Linked DNA regions of Homo sapiens: region 1 is linked to region 2. Evidence: promoter capture Hi-C in 16 types of primary human blood cells and fetal thymus (Javierre and others, 2016). All regions are on one chromosome and are shown on one strand. Each heading gives the region's core, a stretch centred on a gene start or on the middle of the fragment in contact. The rest is flanking DNA. Distances are from core to core; before and after follow the strand shown. Region 1 overlaps LENG8 (leukocyte receptor cluster member 8). Region 2 holds the start of TMEM238 (transmembrane protein 238).

What was found. The method cuts DNA at HindIII sites, captures the fragments that hold promoters and counts their contacts. A CHiCAGO score of 5 or more calls a contact.
Region 1: a contact is called between a fragment that was not itself captured here and the fragment with the promoter of TMEM238 in region 2, in 4 of 17 cell types (non-activated CD4 T cells, total CD8 T cells, activated CD4 T cells and 1 more). The highest score is 5.9, in non-activated CD4 T cells.

What each region holds. Positions count from the first base shown.
Region 1 is chr19:54,451,002-54,457,637 of GRCh38, reverse strand. It overlaps LENG8 (leukocyte receptor cluster member 8), which reads right to left. Exons shown (of 16, transcript NM_052925.4): 2 at 6,256-6,348; 3 at 5,371-5,545; 4 at 4,886-4,987; 5 at 3,982-4,092; 6 at 2,956-3,208; 7 at 2,546-2,687; 8 at 2,071-2,274; 9 at 1,393-1,671; 10 at 1,173-1,313; 11 at 717-1,002. The coding sequence starts at 6,293. Among named protein-coding and RNA genes, the nearest start is that of LENG8, 5.1 kb to the right of the region's middle. The HindIII fragment of the contact is 1,697 bases long and covers 4,378-6,074 here.
Region 2 is chr19:55,378,945-55,385,541 of GRCh38, reverse strand. TMEM238 (transmembrane protein 238) reads left to right here and starts at 1,250. Exons shown (of 2, transcript NM_001190764.2): 1 at 1,250-1,820; 2 at 6,175-6,298. The coding sequence starts at 1,283. The coding sequence ends at 1,813. RefSeq lists enhancers at 565-634, 665-734, 688-1,650, 5,747-6,247 and silencers at 1,025-1,364, 1,655-1,744. The HindIII fragment of the contact is 6,498 bases long and covers 1-4,581 here.

The DNA of each region.
Region 1 (6,636 bases), core at 3,977-6,476, 930 kb after region 2:
CAGGCGCAGTGGCTCACGCCTGTAATCCCAGCACTTTGGGAGGCCGAGGTGTGTGGATCATCTGAGGTCAGGAGTTTGAGACCAACCTGGCCAACATGGTGAAACCCCGTCTCTACTAAAAATACAAAAATCAGCCAGGCGTAGTGGCAGACGCCTGTAATCCCAGCCACTAGGGAGGCTGAGGCAGGAGAATCGCTTGAAGCCGGGGAGCGGAGGCTGCGGTGAGCCAAGATCACGCCATTGCACTCCAGCTTGGGCGACAGAGCCAGACTCTCTCCCAAAAAAAGAGAAAACAAACCCACAAGACATGGGTTAAGAGTGGCCACCTCCACACCCATTTCCCTATAAGCACATGGCTGTTCACAGGTTCTGCAGCAGAACAGTGACTACGCCAAACACTGGAAACACAGCCCCCCACGCCCCACAGCCCACGGGCCTGGGAGAAGGCTTTATGCTCCGTGTCACCTAAGCCAGGAACCACGGCCCAGAGGTCAAGCGATTCGCCGGCCAAGCTGCACACCCGCCACGCGGGGCTCCAGGGCAGCAGAGCGCCTTTGCGCTCCTCTCAGAATGCCGACCAGCCGAGGCGTCTCTGGCCGAGCTTCCCCTGCCATACCAGAGCCCCCGTGTGGCCTCTGCCACCCTCCCTGGGTTGGCTCCCCAAGTCCTGAGCCAGCACGGCCTCACAGAGCAGAACTGCCCTGCTGGGCACTTACTGCCACAGGGCGCACGGTGGACGGGTCGGGGGCACAGGTGAGGCGCAGGTAGTGCTTGGTGATGTCAGGGCAGGTGCCCACGATCTGCAGCTCCTGCCAGTCAGGGTCAGCCCCACTGCTCTCCAGGCTGCTCATCTGCAGCACCAGGGGCTCGAGGCGCAGGCGGCGGGAGTGTCCGTGCTGGAAGCGGGCTGCCCGCTTCTGCTTCTTCAGCTCTCGCTCCGGGTCCTCACACTCCAGCGCCGCCATCTTCTTTCGACTGCGCTTGGTGGGCGCCAGATCGTGCCTAGGAAGGGATGAGGGGCAGTGAGCGCGACAGGCGTCTCCAGCCCCCCTTCAGCCTCGCCCCTTTGGCAGCTGGCTGTCCACCTGTCCGGCCCTCCTCCTCCTTCTCCCATGGGTCCCCAGTACCCTCCTCCACCCTGGCCCGTGTGTCGAGCCCTCACACAGTCTCACCTCTTCCCACGCTGCGCCCTGCCTCGGCCCCGATCCATATGGGCCCCTCGACCGCCCCGGCCCTTAGGGGGCGGGTTCCTGCGGCCCACAGGGTGACACTCATTCCCTGAGTAGGAGCTGTCGGAGTCTGAGTGGGAGTCACTGCAGGAAGAAGCAGGAGGGTCAGGCCTGAAACGCCTCCCCCTCCCTCACACACAGCCCCAGCCGGGAGCCTCAGTACCTTCTGCGGAAGTGGCGCGTCGGGGACCTGGAGGAGGAGCGGGAGCGGGAGTCTGTGCTGGAAGAAGAGCTGTTGTCCTTCATGAAGACGTTGCGGTTGCCAAACTTGGTGAAGCTGTTGCCCCGGGCTCGACCGGCACCCCCAGCCCCGGGCGTCCCTCGCTGGGACGGGGCACCCCCGCCCCTTGTCGCCGAGCCTGCCCCTCTAGGAGGGTGAAGGCTGCTAGCGGCCTCCCACCGCTTCTTCTTAGGGCTCTCAGCCACAGGCTCCCGGGTCAGCCTGAGAATACAGCAGGGCAGGGCGTCACCAACCCCGCCAGACACTGGCAGGACAGCCGCCACCACCTCCCTCAAGGTACCGACCCGCCTCCGAAAGGAAAGGCACTTACCCCAGGCGGCTCAGCTACTACAGTGCAGAAATGAGACGCGAACCCAGGTTTTCCGTCTCCAGAGGGTGCGCTTAACCACTGAGCAATGCACGCCTCTCCAGCACCCATGGTCCCCACCCCACCCCACCGGCCTCCCTCCAACCAGGACTTCATCCCCCCAGGATCCAACTTTCCAGTTCATTTCTCTTTGGAGCTCCTGGTACCTGGGACCCGCAACTCTCCTACCTCCATACCCAGCCCATGCCTCTCACAGCACCACCCTCCCACCTATGTCCCCCACCCAGACTAACCCCGGCAAGGGCTCCCGGCTCCAGTCAATGGTATAGGCCGAGCCGTCCTGCAGCCGCGCCTGCAGCACCTCCTTGAGCAGCTTTTCCGTGCGGTCCTTGTCCTCCTCCGACTCACAGGCGGTGAAGCAGCGCTCCACATACTCTTTCATGTCCTGGGGCCAGTCATCCGGCTTCCCAGACAGGTTCCCCCGGGCAGAGGACCCGCTGCGGGAGGACAGATGAGGGGCTCAGCTGGAGACGATCCCAAACTCAAAAGACCATCCCCACCGCCACTCTGAGCTGACACAGCGGGACGCAGTCCCCAAGTTTTCCTTCTGTCTCCTTCAGTGCTCACAGCAACCCCCAAGAGAGGGTCCTTCTGCCCTTTTCAGAGGCGCACACTGAGGCTCAGGGTGGGCAGCTGGCCAGTGGGACTGGACCATAGACGCTGAGTGCAGAGTGTGGGGCTGCGACGGGGCAAGGGGGCAGACGTCACCTGTGGTTCTGAACTTTCTCAGGGTTGGGCTGGGGGCCAAAACCACTGTGCTGGCCCTCTGCGTTGGAGCCAAAGCTCTGGGTGGTAACAGCAAAGGGTCGCTTCTGGATGTTGAACTTGAGACCTCCAGTCCCAGGGGCGGCTGTGAGGGCAGCGAAAGCTATGGTTAGGCCCTTCCCCGGCACATCCAGGGGTCCCCAGGGGACGGGAGGAAGTGGAAATGCAGGGAGGAGCGCTCAGGTTCTAGAGGAGGGCTCCAGCACACATGTGCCTGGTCCAGAGCAGCCCCACCCCCAGCCTGGCGATCACAACACCCAGAAACAAGGAGCAGCACACACCACGGGCCTCACACCCAGGAGCTCTTATGAGGGCCCAACCGCTCGGACCTCCACGTAGCTCTGCCAACTTACGTTTCATGCGGTTCCACAGCTGTTGGCCCTTCTTGGGCTTGGCAGGTTCGGTGTAGGTGTGTGGCCCATAGGCCTGGCCCGTGGCGGGCCCCGCCTGGCTGTGCTGTGTGGCTGGAGCTGTCCCAGGCTGAGGGCCACTGTTCAGCGTGTGAGCCCCATGTGGGGGATTTGAGGGCTGAGGGGGCTGAGCCGACGGCAGCTGCTGAGGGGGAGCCTGGTAGGACATGCTCTCATCCATGCCGGGGACTGGGGGCTGCAGAAGGAAGCAGGCGCTGAGCACGGGAGGCAGATTCTGGGGCTGGCGAGTGGCACTCAGCCCTCGCTGTGAGGACGCAGTGGTCACAGCACTCAGCACTCAACCCTCCCGTGACCTTCCCAAATGTGAGTTCATTCGAGTCCTCAGTAACTCTGTGAGGTTAACATTTGTTAACAGCCCTTTTCACAGCTGACAAGGCTCCAGCTCAGAGACTAAGCGACTTCCCAGGGCCCTAAGCTATGAAGCGGCAGCTGGCAGCGTTTCAATGCTGGAGTAACAGCCACCGACAACACACCCACTCCAGCGCTACCATCTGAGCACAAGACACCCATGAGCACACACACTCATGGAGCCCAAGGATGAGGCTACCATCCTTCCCGCTTTCGAGAGCTGACCGAGATGCGTAATTACACCAGGGGTGGGACAGCTGGGATTCAAACCCAGGTCTACCTGCCTCCTGTGCACTAGCCCGGCCATTCCTCCAAGCTGCACATTCAATGCAAAACCCAGCCGGTGTGTGCACGCCTGTGGGTGACCATGCTAGGGAAAAAGATGAGATGTCTTTCAACATCTCAGCCCTGGCCTTGGCTCAGCCTTAAACCCACCCCAGGTTCAAACACTATGCTCTGTCCTCCTCATTTTCAGATCAGGAGTTGCTTGGAAGGAAAAAAGCAGCTTAAGGAGTACAAGCCATTCCTCATTGACAGCTCATTCAAAAATCTACACTTCCTCTGCTTGAGCAGGGTATGGGAGCTGGGCTAGGATGTTACCTGGTTCAGAGTCCCTTGGTGTTGGGGTGCGGATGGCTGCTGGGGTGTGGCTGAGCCATAGGAGCCGGCCATCCCATACTGGGAAGGGGAGCCATAGCTCTGGTACATGCTCTGCAAAGGCGCAGGGAGGGAGGGTTTAGTGGGAGGCCTACCCTTTCCGCTTCCCCAGCCTGCTCAGGAACTACACCAGCCATGACCCTCTACCAATCCCTCACCCCTTTCTCTCTTCACTATATTAATGCACCACATCCTCTCATATATTAGGAAAAGAAAAACCTCTATCAATCCCACATCTCACTTAGCTAGTTCTCGGAAGAATATAATCAACGATACTGAGTGCCAACTCTTCTAAGCACTACGACAGAACAAAAGGAAAACCCATGCTGTAATGAAGCTTGTGCTGGAATTACATGTCCGGCTGGAGACATCAACATGTAATACATCCAGCAATAAGGATCATGAAACAATAAGATGGCAAAGAAAGGGAGAGGGACAGGCTGCGAGGCAGGAATGCTACTTTCAATCAGTGTGTCAGGTAGAGGCTCTCTGAAGGCGGCATCTGAGCAGAGACCTCCAAGAGGCGGCAACACAGGGAGCACTGCAGCCAGGGCAAAGCGAGAGCGGGCCTGGCGGGTGCGGGCATCAAGGAGGTCTCTGCTTCGATGGCCATGGCAGAATGAGCATGAGGAGAGAAGGGACCAGAACCGGGTATGTAGGACCTTGTGGCTCATGGCGGGGACCTAGGAATTTACCTCCTGGGCAAGTTAGAGGGTTTCTGAGCAGTTATCACTGCGATCTCCAGTCCATCCACCACCCAGCCCCATCCCGGCAGACTCCACTTCACCTCGCCCCGACCCAGCAGACTCCACCTCGCCCTGCCCCGCCCCACTGGCTGGGCACTCACCATGGGATAGTAGTAGCTGTAGGGGTAGGCATAGTTGTACTGCTGGTACCACTGGTAGTACTGCTGCTGCTGCAAAGCTGAGGCTTCTGCCTGGGACACGTACTGTGGAAGCAGAGGCACATGTGCCGTCAGCAGCCCAAATCCACAGGCACACGGCCCCCAAAGGGCAAGCCTGTTTACTGGTGGCCAATTGCCAAGGGATGAAACTGGGTCCATGTATCTGCAAAGTGAGCCACTGTCTCTACCATGAGACTCACGCACGTTAGAGACCAGGGGCATGGGCATGGCCTCCCTCTTCAGAACCACATCACGCCCTAATTTCCTCAAGGAAACAGAACTTTTTCCCGTTCAGATTTAGATACCCTGGAACGTCTTTTCATGTTTCCCCTCAGAGCACCCCGTCTGAATGATACAACAGGACGCCAGACTGTGTCCCTCCCACAACCTCTGGCTCAGGGTACCCCAGCCCCATGAGGCCTTCTCACCTGTGCACTGGCCACAGGCCCATTGCTGCTGGACTTGGCAGAGCCGCCGGCAGCTCCTGACTTGCTGATGCTGGCCAGGGCCTGACGGGCCTTCTCCCACTCCGGGTTCTCGTGCATCGGCGTCTCCATGCCATTCTCTCGGCCTGCCCCAGCCACCATGCTGTACTGAGAAGACCTGCAGAGAGAGAGGACATCAAGTCACACCTGTTCTCCCCACTGTACACAGGTGGGCAAGTTGGGAGGCAAATTCCAGCCCCTGGATCCCATATCTAACTGTTACTACCAGTCTAAGCCTAAGTTTTCTAATCTGTACTATGCTGATAAAGGGTTTCTGCTTCAGAGTCTGCTGGGAGGGATAAATGAGATCACCTACTTAAGGTACTTATCCCAGAGCCTGGCACACAGCAGTTGTTAAAACCAAACAAACAAAACAATTAACAGAACCCACAGAACTGAACACAGGCCTTGGCACCTCCTAGGGCTATGTCTTTCATGAATCAATGAATTCTGTCTGACATCACCCCAGTCGGCAGGTTATCACACTATTTTGAGAAAAAATAAGGAATCAGCAGAAAAACAAATAAATGACTGTGTATTGAGTGTTGGGAAGCTGCCTCCTAATTACACTTGCTTGAATGAATCATCACAATTCTGCAAAGCAAGCGCTGTACTGTGAAAAACGAAAGCTCAGAGAGGTGAAAGCTTGCCCCTCTCCACACCACAACCAAATGCTTCCCTCTGTGTTTGCCTCACCACCACCCCCACCCACAGGGATTGTGGCATCACCTCCCCTAAGGCCACGGGAGGTCCCACCCCAGAGGACAGCACTGGGTCTTGCTTCCTCTTTCCCTCCCGACTGGCCTCCATCCCTCTCGCCTCACTAACCAATCTGTGCTACGTTGATCACCCACGTTGGCCGCCATCTGGACCTTGGGGTATAAGGGGTGGACCTCGGGAGCCAGACTGCTTTTTCACTGTCTATGAGAAAAAGAATGAGTTAGGGAGACTTAAGGGGGAGCTAAAAACACGTCACAAAGTGGGGAAGAAAAGTAGATGGACTCAAGAGAAGCCGGGCAGAAAAGGGGAGGCTGACTGAAAAGCCACTGGGGTCAAGGATCTGAAGAGTTCTGGGTGTGGACTAGAAAGGCTGGAGTGAGGGGAAGCCCCTGGCCCCTTTGTAGAGCTCCAGGTGGAAAACGAAGGATTTGGAAACAGGGAAGCCAGAGCAGACTTCCCAAAGGGAAGGAGAAGGGTCTGAAACCCATG
Region 2 (6,597 bases), core at 1-2,500:
TAGCCCCGGCACCTTTGGATATTTCCGGTCTTCGTAAGCCCTCGCGGTGATGGCCAATGAGGGCGCCGAGGCCCGCTCGGGTATTTTCGGAACCCTCCGGAAACGCTCTTGGGAGAGGTGTGTATGTTCGGAAATACTCCGTCTTCATTCGGAATCCCTCGGCTAATCCTGGCAGCCCTCTTGCAGTTCGCCCTCCCCAGGGTTTTCTTGAAATAAAACTCTTAAACTGTTTAAGCCTGGGGAGAACCTACACGGAAACTTCTCGCTGACTGCCACCCCAGGGGAGCGCGGATGCCCTCTAAGGGAGAATTGTTTGGAGGGAGGGAGATTTGCATGTGGCTTCTCTTGGCTCCCTTTAGGATTCTATAGATTTGCCGGTCCTCTTCCCTGCCCTCCACCTGTGCCTCCAGCCTATGGTGTGCCTGTCACACCCCATCAGCTCCCTGGGAGGTTATGATCCGTTGTCAGGGCCACCCTAAGGGGGCAGGAGCCTTGCCTGATATTTCTCTGTGTCCTCGGCCTCACCCACGCGGCATGGTGCTGGGGAGGCCTCAGAGACTCCTACTGAACAAAAGGAATGAGGGTGCCTGTGTCACCTCCCCAGGGCTCCTTAACTTGCGGTTACACCCGGGCACTCCTTGGGGCAGGGGCTTCGTCTGGTCCATAGGACTATCCTCCATAGGACAGTCGGGGTTCGCCCAGCTTCCTCCACGGGTGCGCTCTGGACCTGATGGGTCTCGTCCGTCCTTGTGCCCGTGGCTTCATTCGCTGAACACAGGAGACCCCAGAAGACACGCGCTGAGTGAAGGAAACTCAGCTTCCGCGGAACCCGGAGCTTCCCCTCTTAGATCACCCCGACTACTGGTTCTCGCGTCCCAGAGCTCCTTGGTGTCTAAAGGCCTTGTCTGATCTGCACTGTCTGATCTGCACAGGCTTCGGGAGGCGGACACTGAGCAGAAACAACGCCACGCCCGGCTCCGAGTGTCCCATGCTGCCACCACTAAAATGCCCTGATTTTTGGCCATATGTGACCTCCCTGGGTGGCACGGGCCCTAGGCACCCGTGGCTGTGCGCCTGGCTACCACCAGCTCAGGCCTCTGAGCAATAGCCCCTGCACGGAAACCACGACCAGGGTAACCCCGGCCGCGCCGGTTCGCGCCCAGCCCGGTTCAGGTGACCAGGCGGGAGCTTGGCACACCTGGCGCCGTCCCCTGACCCCGCCCCGGACCGGGCCGCACCCCGGAACGCTCTCTCTGGGCGCCAGCGGCGGCGGTGCAGGGCCATGGCGGCGGCGCCAGCGGTGTGCGCCTCGCAGGGGAGCCCGCCGGGTGCACCGTCCGCGCCGGCGGCCGCGCCAGCACCCGCGGCCGGCCTGGGCCGCTGCCGGATGGCGCTGCTGCTGGCCGTGGCGCTGGATGTGGCGGGCATGGCGGCGCTGCTGACCGGCGTGTTCGCGCAGCTGCAGGTGCGCGGCCGCGACTTCGGGGACCTGCTCATCTACTCGGGCGCGCTGCTGGTGTTCCTGAGCCTGCTGGGCTGGATCCTCTGGTACACCGGCAACATCGAGATCTCGCGCCAGGAGCTGGAGCGCGACTACGGCCTGCGGCCCTCGGCGCTCGCCCGCCTGGCGCGCAAGCTCTCCCGCCGCTGGTCGGCGCCCGCCGCCGCGGGCCAGCGCCCCGCGCCCGGCTCCCGGAGAGCGCGCCGAGCCGCCCGCGCGCCCCCGCCGCCCGCCGCCGGCTCCCGCCGCGTGCGCCTGCAGCTCGCCACGCTCGAGGCCGGGCCCGGGGCGGCGGGCGCGGGCAGCGAGTGAGGCCCAGGTGAGGGGCGGGCGGGGCAGGGCGGGGAGACGGAGGGACCGAGGGAGGGACGGGAATGGAGACAGACGGGGGAGCGATGGACAGATGGAGACAGAGAGCGGCCATGGGGAGGTAGAGTCCCAGGGCGGGGTGGAGACAGGGACGGGAAGGCTCTGGCGGAGAACCGCAGACACAGCAAGCACAGGTGCATACGTGGGGGAGGCTGTGAGACCCTGCCCCTGGAGATGGGAAGTGTGGGGGTCGAGTCACACAGTTAGGCCCCCCGCACGGGGAGAGCCCCAGCTTCCAGGTACACCAGGCCCCATTTTTTGTTTTGTTTTGTTTTGTTGTCGTTTGGGGTTGTTTTGAGACAGGATCTCTCACTGTCACCCAGGCTGGAGTGCAGTGGCGTGATCTCAGCTCACAGCAGCCTCGACCTCCTAGGCTCAAGCAGTCCTCCCACCTGAGCCTCCCAAGTAGCTGAGAATACATGTGCGCCCCACCTTGCCGGGCTAATTTTTGTATATTTAGTAGAGACGGGGTTTTGCCATGTGGGCCAGGTTGGTCCCCACCTCCTGAGCTCATGCGATTTGCTCTCCTCAGCCTCCCAAAGTGCTGGGATTACAGGCGTGAGCCACTGAGCCCAGACCAGGCCCCATTTAATCCTCTCCATGTAACTGGTCTCCAAGGTCACTACTATTACCATCCCCATTCTGCAGTGGAGGAAACTGAAGCGCAGAAAGGCGCCACATTTGCCCAAGGCCACACAACACGTAGGTGGAGGAGCTGGGATTCTCCTGACCTGTAGGCCTAGGAAAAGAGGAGCTGGGATTCTCCTGACCTGTAGGCCTAGGAAAGGAGGAGCTGGGATTTTCCTGACCTGTAGGCCTAGAAAAGGAGGAGTAAGAAGGACCAACAGCAGGAGAAATGAAGCCACCACACATTCACTCCCCTTTCCCCTCTACCTTCTATCTCTTTCCTAAACACACCTTTCCAGCTAGCCTGCCTCTGCTCAAAGACCTGCTGTGGCTCCCTCTTCACCTTTGGTTAAACTGAAGCACTCACTGGCCTGTGGACCCCCCATATTTTGGCCCCATTTCTCCTGCCTCTCTGCACTAATGGTGTCTCTTAGTCCACAGATAGCCAGTTGGTCCCTGTTCCTGCTCTTCTCTACACCAGGAGTGCCCTTGGCTGTCTCCACTCCACCCAGAAAACTTCTCACATGTTTAAGATTTAACTTAATTTCTCTGGGTCTTCTCTGGGTCTTCATATTGTCTGAGCGACCCCTCTTGCTGCTTATATGGCCATGTGCTGTGTCTATGTTGTTACTGTCTCTCCCACCTGACAGGGAGTGCCTTGAGGGTAAGACCTAGGTCCCTAGCGTCCTTGTTCCTAGCATTGCCCAGCAAAAAGTGTGAAATCAGGAAAGGTTGATGGTTGGGTAGGGAAGTGGAAGGATGGATGGAAGAACGGATGGCTGGATGGGTGGATGGGTAGATGGATGGGTGGATGGATGGATGAGTTGGTTGATGGATGCATGGGTGAATGGATGATAGATTGATAGATGGGTGGGTGGGTGGATGGGTAGATCGATGGGTGCGTGGATGGATGAGTTGTTTGATGGATGGATGGGTGAATGCATAGATGGGTGGGTGGTTGGATAGGTGGATGGGTAGATGGATGGGTGGATGGACGGGTGAATGGACAGATGGGTGGGTGGGTGGATGGGTGAATACATGGGTTGGTTGATGCAGGGATGTGGTTGGATTGACGGATGGATGGGTTGTTTAATGGGTAGATATGGGTAGGTGGTGAATTGGGCAATGAACCATGAATGGATATGGTTGGAGAGGGAGCCCTGCCTGATAAAGGGGCAAGAGCTTTTCCTGATACTTCTCTGTGTCCTCGGCCTCACCCATGCAGCATGGTACTGGGGAGGCCTCAGAGACTCCTACTGAACAAAAGAAATGAGGGTGCCTGTGTCACCTCCCCAGGGCACCTTAACTTGCGGTTACACCTGGGAACTCCTTGGGGCAGGGGCCTCGGCTGGTCCATAGGACTATCCATAGGACAGTCAGAGTTTGCCCAGCCTCTGTGCGCTCTCTGGATAGATAGGTAGATGGGTGAATGGGTAGTTGAATAGATGGTTGGGGCTGAATGATAAGTACACAGATGAGTGGATGAATGCATTTAATGGCACATGGATGGTTGGGTGACTGAATTCATCTCTCAAATAGGGTTTTGGTAAAAGAATTAAACCCTATTATCCTAGGACGTTCTATGTAGGTAAATAATTAACTTTTTTTTTTTTTTTTTTTTTTTTTGAGATGGAGTTACACTCTTGTTGTCCAGGCTGGAGTGCAGTGGCGCAATCTCGGCTCACTGCAACCTCTGCCTCCCGCGTTCAAGCAATTCTCTTGCCTCAGCTTCCCGAGTAGCTGGGATTACAGGCATGCACCCCCACACCTGGCTAATTTTGTATTTTTAGTAGAGACGGGGTTTCTCCATGTTGGTCAGGCTGGTCTCAAACTCCCGATCTCGGGTGATCCGCCCACCTCGGCCACCCAAAGTGCTGGGATTACAGGCGTGAACCACCGTGCCCGGCTGGAATTAACTTTTCTCCTATGCATCCAGAATGCTACCAGTTATATATTATTCTTTGTGAGATTTGGGGAAATAGTCACCCCAATCATATGCTACGTGCCGTGATTCAGTGAAGGAACTGGGGTAAGAAAGCATGAACATCTGCTTGCACGGGTGAAGCGTAAGCTAACATGAAGCTTGGCATAGAATGCAAACATAAGCACCTGTAGTTACTGTTACCTTTGGAAATCCTGGCTGAGCACAGTGGCTCATGCCTGTAATCCCAGCACTTTGGGAGGCCGAGGTGGGAGAATTGCTTGCTTGAACCTGGGAGGCAAAGGCTGCAGTGAGCCAAGATCACGCCACTGCACTCCAGCCTGAGTGACAGAGTGAGAACCCGTCTCAAAAAAAGAAAGAAAAGAACATCCTTTATGAGGTTGGGCATGGTGGCTCATGCCTGTAATCCCAGCACTTTGGGAGGCCGAGGCGGGTGGATCACCTGAGGTCAGGAGTTCGAGACCAACCTGGCAACCATGGTGAAACCCTGTCTCTACTAAAAATACAAAAATTAGCCAGGCATGGTGGCGGACGCCTGTAATCCCAGCTACTAGGGAGGCTGAGGCAGGAGAATCACTTGAATCTGGGAGGCGGAGGTTGCAGTGAACCAAGATCGTGCCACTGCACTCCAGCTTGGGCAACAGAGCAAGACTCCATCTCAAAAAAAGAAAAGGAGAGGAGAGGAGGGGAGGGGAGGGGAGGAGGGGGGAAGGGGGAGGGGAGGGGGAAGCAGGGAGGGAAGGGGGGAAGGGAGGGGAGGGGGAAGGGGGAAGGGGGAGGGGACGGGCAAGGGGGGAGGGGAGGGGGGAAGGGGGGAGGGGAGGGGAGGGGAGGAGAGGAGAATCCTTTACGTAGCTTAAACGTCTAACACAGCTGCACAGGCCTCCACTCTTGGAGCCTCCACCAAAGACTCAGACCACACTGACTCGAACGTAGGCCCCACTTAGAGGAAAATGGGCCTGTTCAAACCCAGGACTCTTGTTTACTGGGGAGAGTGAGCAGCTTCCAGCGCATGAAAGACAGAGAACCTGAATTTTAGCAGAGGGACCCACAGGTTCTGGCTCTGGTACCCCCACAACCTCCGAGACCACCATGAGTAGCCGGGCAGAGCCACCCCCATCACTCTGTTGTTCAGGCTGGAGAGCAGTGGTGCAATCACAGCTCACTGCAGCCTCCACCTCCTGGGCTCAAGCAATCCTCCCACCTCAGCCTCCCAAGGAACTGGGACTACAGGTACCAGAGACGGGGTCTTCCTATGTTACCCAGGCTGGTGTCAAACTCCTGGGCTCAAGTGATCCTCCTGCCTGCAGCCAAAATGCTGGGGTGAGGGTCTGAGATGAGGACCACGATGCCCGGCCTCCTTCTGTCTTCACTGTGTCTGCCTGTCTCCCTCTCTCTCACTCTTTGTCTCTGTGTCTCTGTCTCCCAGGTCTCTTTCTTTGTCCCTGTGCTTCTGCCTTTCCCCTTCTGCATGTCTTCGTCTCCCCCTTTCTGCCTCTCCCTGGCTCGCATTCCCTGGCCTCTACCCTTGGATTTCAGGGCGTTAAAGGTACACACGCATGCACACACTCAGCAAATGGGGGCATGCAGGGATGAAGGAGCAAGTGTGTGAGTCCATGTGAGCGGCAAGGGCAGGCGGATGGGGCTCCCTGCCTCTGCCCCCGCAGGCAGAGAGCCCGGAACAGGGATGGGAGGGGTTCCTGAGCAGTCGCTCACTCCACCCTCCCTCCTGCAGACAACCCCTTGGCTCCAGCTGTCAGGACCAGACTGAGATGTGCAGCTGCCCCTACATCCGTGGCCAGACGGACGCTCCCTGTACCCCCTCCCTCCTCACTTGGATAAAAAGCAGATTTGCCTTAGTGCTGCATGTCTGTCTGGGAGAGGGACCCTGCTGGGGTGGGAATGGAGACGAGGTGGCTTGCTTCCTTCTAGCACCCAGGTGGGCCTGGCCACACCTGAGGTGAGGCTGCCCCTGCCCTGGGGAGACCAGGAGCCCTGGGGATATAGGAGCCTAGCCTTATGCTGGCCCCTTCTCAGAGGGGGCCAGAGAGGGGGCGGGGGATAAGGATCTTAGCCCAGACCCTCCACTCTAAGCCCCAACATCCCTGTGTGAGTTTGGGTTCACTGAGAAGCAGACACAGAGACAAACTGGACTTGC